Regions from separate parts of the Homo sapiens genome. Here region 1 is linked to region 2. Evidence: promoter capture Hi-C in 16 types of primary human blood cells and fetal thymus (Javierre and others, 2016). All regions are on one chromosome and are shown on one strand. The core of a region is centred on a gene start or on the middle of the fragment in contact, and the rest is flanking DNA. Distances in the headings are between cores, read along the strand shown. Region 1 overlaps LOC124905249 (a long non-coding RNA gene). Region 2 holds the start of ACE2 (angiotensin converting enzyme 2).

Evidence for each region. Contacts are between HindIII fragments. The CHiCAGO score rates a contact against its expected background, and 5 or more counts as called.
Region 1: a fragment that was not itself captured here is called in contact with the fragment with the promoter of ACE2 in region 2 in 1 of 17 cell types (naive B cells); the score reaches 5.5 in naive B cells.

The regions. Positions count from the first base shown.
Region 1 is chrX:16,444,546-16,447,420 of GRCh38, reverse strand. All of the region lies in intron 1 of LOC124905249 (a long non-coding RNA gene), which reads left to right. Among named protein-coding and RNA genes, the nearest start is that of MIR548AM, 180 kb to the left of the region's middle. RefSeq lists enhancers at 1-349, 350-875, 1,945-2,144. The HindIII fragment of the contact is 2,987 bases long and covers 1-2,875 here.
Region 2 is chrX:15,599,510-15,602,209 of GRCh38, reverse strand. ACE2 (angiotensin converting enzyme 2) reads left to right here and starts at 1,250. Exons shown (of 18, transcript NM_001371415.1): 1 at 1,250-1,484. The coding sequence starts at 1,299. RefSeq lists cis regulatory regions at 775-779, 763-798, 959-964, 980-985, 1,012-1,017 and 5 more, promoters at 993-1,298, 944-1,298, 845-1,298, 81-1,298, 1,118-1,299 and 2 more and an enhancer at 1,426-2,625. The HindIII fragment of the contact is 4,764 bases long and covers 1-2,302 here.

The DNA.
Region 1 (2,875 bases), core at 185-2,684, 850 kb before region 2:
CTTCCCTCGGCTCTTGGTGTTCTTTCTCTGACATTAAGAAATTCTCTTCCTGCATGGAACAAGTGTTATTTTGTTAAAACCGGATGCCTGTCATTTATTCCTTGCAACTGTAAACCAAAAAGGAACTGAGACAAGTCTCAATCAATGTAGAAGTTTATTTTGAGGGCCGGGTGCGGTGGCTCACGCCTGTAATCCTAGCACTTTGGGAGGCTGAGGTGGGTGGATTGCTTGACCTCAGGAGTTTGAGACCAACCTGGGCAACATGGTGAAACCCCGTCTCTACTAAAATACAAAAAATTAGCCGGGTGTGATGGCACACGCCTTAATCCCAGCTACTAGGGAGGGTGAAACAGGGGAATCACTTGAACCTGGGAGGCAGAGGTTGCAGTGAGCTGAGATCGCGCCATTGCACTGCAGCCTGGGAGACAGAGCGAGACTCCGTCTCAAAAAAAAAAAAGAAGTTTATTTTGAGAAGGTTAAGGACGTACTCATGACACAGCCTCAGGAGGTCCTGAGAACATGTGCCCAAGGTGGTTGGGCCACAGCTTGGTTTTATACATTTTAGGGAGACATAAGATATCAATCAGTACATGTAAGGTGTACATTGGTTTGGTCTGGAAAGGTGGGACAACTGGAAGTGGGGGCTTCTAGGTCAGAGGTGAATTCAAAGATTTTCCAATTGGCAATTGGTTGAAAGACTTCTTCTAAAGGCCTGGAATCTATGGGAGGGAGTGTCTGGGCTAAGATAAGGGGTTGTGGAGACCAAGGTTCTTATTATGCAGATGAAGCCTTTAGGTAGCAGGCTTCAGAGAAAATAGATTGTAAATATTTCTTATTAGACTTAAAAAGGTGCCAGACTATTAGTTAATTCTCTCCTGGATCAGGACGAAGACCTGGAAAAGTAAAGGGATTCTTTCCAGAATGTAGATTTTCCCCACAAGAGACAGCATTGCAGGGCCATTTCAAAATATGTCAAAAAATATATTTTAGGGTAAAATACTTCAATTTCTTTCAGGGCCTGCTATCTGTCAAGTGATGCTATAATAGAGTCAGGCTGGAATTCGGTGTCTTATTGCTACAAAGTCTTAAGATGTCTATTGTAATGTGAATGCTGGTCAGTTGTGCCTGAATTCCAAAGCAAGGCGGGTATAAGGAGGCATGTCCAACTATGCCCCCCACTGCCCCCCAACCCCGCCAGCCCCGGCATCCCATCATTGCCTGAACTAGTTTTTCAGGTTCTTTGGAATGTCCTTGGCTGAGAGAAGGGGTCCTTTCAGATGGTTGGGGGGCTTAGAATTTTTTTTTTAGTTTACACAACTAATATAAATTTTATCAAAGGTTTCTGATGGTTCACACAGAAGTCCCACGGTGCAATTCTCCACTGGAAGACATTTTTATTTCCTAGGGCTATTAGTTGGCTTACAATAAAAACTTTAAAGCACTTTTCTTTCCTGAGAAAATTGCTCTCTGAATCAATGGGATTGAGCATAGATAATGGAAAGAGACAGTAAGATGTTCTTGCCTGTAACCAAGCTCCTGTTTAGCGCTTAGTTTGTCTGTCCAACCTGGAGAATCATGGGATGCCCCAGGAATTGTTCCTGAGATTTAAGTTTCACATTGAGACTTTAGGGTTGTTTCCTACAGATTGACTCTTCCCAGAGTGGGTGATCCATCCATGGAACAACCTTGGGTGGGCCTGTGGGTGCATCCTTAAAACAAATGAGGGCTCACTCTGAATATAAGGCAAGATCTTTCAACTGTGGCACTATTGACATTTTGGACTGGACAATTTTGTGTTATGGGAGTGTCCTGTGCAATGTAGGATGTTTGGCAGCATCCCCGGCCTCTACCCACTAGATGCCAGCCTCCACCCCTAAGCTGTGACATCCAAAAATGTCTCCAGACACTGCCAAATGTCCACTGCAGGAAAATATCACGCCCTGTTGAAAACCACTGATCCAAAGCACCCGCAATTATTTATTCTGGTACAGTTGTAGAAGGCCTCGAACACTTTTCTTCAAAGGGCTGTACAGCCTTAAGAAACCACTAGAGGGCGAGCAGGGCTGCTAATTTGAGCTGCTTCATAAAGGTGTCACTGCAGGACTTGGCAGAAGCAGGGGGCCAAGGGACTCCCCTTGGGAGCTTGATGGAACCACTGAGAAGAGCAAGTCCTGCCATCCTAAGAGCATTAGGGAAGCAGCCACCAGTAAGAACGCACCCCTCACCCCAGGAGCTGAGAAGACCATGGTTATGAGGTGACTGTCAAGTGATGGGCTCCATCACCCAGGGTGAGGTAACCCTCTGTGAGGAGGGGTCAGCCAGCCTCTTCTGTCTCCTTGATGTGGTGTACTTAGTGTAGAGAGGAAAGAGATTATTGGTCTTATCTCGATTTTTCATGAAGGGGAGATAGCATTCAGTTCAATAAGTATTTATTTCATGTCTACTATTTATAAGGTTCTGTGTTTGATTATGGGGATATTGGTAGATTGCATAAATGGCCACAAATTATTTACCTGTCTGTATCCATGCCTTTGGGCAGTCCCCTCCCACATTGACTCTGGGCATAGCCATTTGATTTGCTTTGGCCAATGGGTCAATAGCAAATGTGATGCAAGCAGAGACCTGAAAGCTCTTGCTCACTGGGGCATATCCACTCTTGAGGCTCTTGGGACCCTGCCGCTGCTGTCGTGTGAGGAAGCCCAAGCTAGCCTGCTGAATGATGAGAGATCCGTGACCCCAGGGGCTCCTATTACCTCAGCTGACAGCCAGCCAACTTCCAGAAGCTGAGACACCTAGTTGACCAGCAGCCAACTGGCACGGCTTAACTCAGTATAGCAGAAGACCAGCAAAAGAAAGGCCCAGCCCAAATTGCCAA
Region 2 (2,700 bases), core at 1-2,500:
CAGGTAGGCCCTTGAACCCTGCCATTTAAAGTGCTCCTCTCTTTGATCTGTGGCACTCATACATACACTCTGGCAATGAGGACACTGAGCTCGCTTCTGAAATTTGACAAGATAACCACTAAAATCTCTTTGAATTCTATGTTGTTGTGATCCCATGGCTACAGAGGATCAGGAGTTGACATAGATACTCTTTGGATTTCATACCATGTGGAGGCTTTCTTACTTCCACGTGACCTTGACTGAGTTTTGAATAGGTAAGTGAAGGAGAAGGAGGCACTCAAAGAAGTCAGCCACAGAACCAGTGTGAGAAATAGGAAATGAGCTTTTTTAAGTTTTGCAAAGGCAGATCAGGAGAGTTGACCTGTGGAGTGGAGAGTAGTCATAATTTTAAAAAATGGCCATGGAAATTAAAACTGATCAGAAATGGCTGGGCACAGTGGCTCACGCCTGTAATCCTAGCACTTTGGGAGGCCGAGTTGGGCAGATCACAAGGTCAGGAGATAGAGACCGTCCTGACTAACACGGTGAAACCCCGTCTCTATTAAAAATACAAAAACTTAGCTGGGCGTGGTGGTGGGCACCTGTAGTCCCAGCTACTCGGGAGGCTGAGGCAGGAGAATGGCGTGAACCTGGGAGGCAGAGCTTGCAGTGAGCCGAGATCGCGCCACTGTGCTCCAGCCTGGGCGACAGACCGAGACTCAGTCTCAAAAAAAAAAAAAAAAAAAAAACTGATCAGAAATATGAATTCCATAAAGACAAGGGCAAAGTCATGTATTTGGAAGGGAAAATGTTGCCCAAGTAGAGAGTTTCTGGGAATATGATCTTGAAATAAAAATAAATGTGAGATAACCTATTAATGAAATTGTCTGAAAACCATACAAACACCAACATTATCTTCATGATCCCTAGTTCTAGACCTCTTTGGTCACTGTAAAATTATAACATTTTCCGTGTATCTTTAACAGCTTTCTAGGAAAATATTAACCAAAAGTACCGGTTTTGATTTGGCCATAAAGTGACAGGAGAGGTAAGGTTCTCTAGGATTAAAGAATAACGTATTCTTATTTGATTCACTTTAAAAAATTATTCTAAAATCTGTTACATATCTGTCCTCTCCAGGATGAACTTTATATTGGCTCAGCAGATTGTTTACTGTGTTCTTCTTCTTTTTCTTTTTTTGGTCTTTCCTGCTCAGCGCCCAACCCAAGTTCAAAGGCTGATAAGAGAGAAAATCTCATGAGGAGGTTTTAGTCTAGGGAAAGTCATTCAGTGGATGTGATCTTGGCTCACAGGGGACGATGTCAAGCTCTTCCTGGCTCCTTCTCAGCCTTGTTGCTGTAACTGCTGCTCAGTCCACCATTGAGGAACAGGCCAAGACATTTTTGGACAAGTTTAACCACGAAGCCGAAGACCTGTTCTATCAAAGTTCACTTGCTTCTTGGAATTATAACACCAATATTACTGAAGAGAATGTCCAAAACATGGTGAGTTCTCATGGCTCTATTGGGCTATTTGTTGCCTCTTAAAGATTAGATTACTGCCCGTGAAACTGAAAAGGGAAATCAAAAAAAATGCTCTGAGTTGTGAGATTGGATGTTTGCCTCCATATCCCTGATTTTGGAGTCCCAGATAACTAAACTTAATTGACCCTGGGGTTCATTCAGAAAATTGTTACAAAATAATTCACTGGTCTCAATCCAGATGCTTGGAAACAAGAGAATATTCTTTATAAAGTTACCACCATAATTCTCATCACAGTCAGGATTTCAAAGCATTTCATGGAAATGCCATAAGTTATTGAGTTAATAATTTCCTTTAGCCTACAATATCAATAGGAATATCTAAAGATTCTCTACAAATGATATATTAACTGAAAAATGCAACTGGAGGCTTAGTGAAAGAACTAGTAATTAAGCTAATCAGGGCTTGGGTGAGGCTGGACTTGGGAATTCCTTTCCTCTTTGTCACAGACCTCCAAGGGACTCCAAAAGGTCACAGAATCCAGGCAGAGCCCTCCAAAACAAAAACAAAAACAAACAACAAAAAAACTATGATTAAACCAGTTCTGACAAATATCAGAATGCTCTGGGAAAGCCAGATGCTTTAACAAGTGCAAGGATTTAGGAATTTCTTCTCTCACAGATCCCAAAACAGTATCCTTAAGTGGTGATCCTTATGTCAAGCTGTGAGAATATACCTCAAAATAATAGAAGGCATCCAAACTTGATCAGTATAGTGTCATAAAGCTGCTGATGTAGAAGTGTGGAGAAGTCCATCAGATAGAGATATGGAAAAAAAAGCTTGGTTAAAACAGGTTTCCAAAGTTCTCTCCCTTTCTCTGCCATTGTGGTATGTGTGGTTGACCATTTCTCATCATGTTTTCTTACAAGACTTTCAGGATCAAGCAATTCCTCGCCAAAAAACAAAATCAAGGACACGTTGTAGCTATTTCTTGGTGAGTTACCAGAAGCTGTGAAGAGAGAGCATGAGGCCCATACTTTTTTTTTTTTTTGAAGGGTCTCGCTCTGTTGCCCAGGCTGGAATGGAGTGGCATGATCATGATTCATTGCAGCTTGACCTCCTGGGCTCAAATGATCCTCTCGCATCATTTAACATTTTTTTTTGTAGAGATGAGATCTCACTTTGTCTCCCAGGCTGGTCTTGAACTCCTGGGCTCAAGTGATCCTCTTGCCTCAGGCT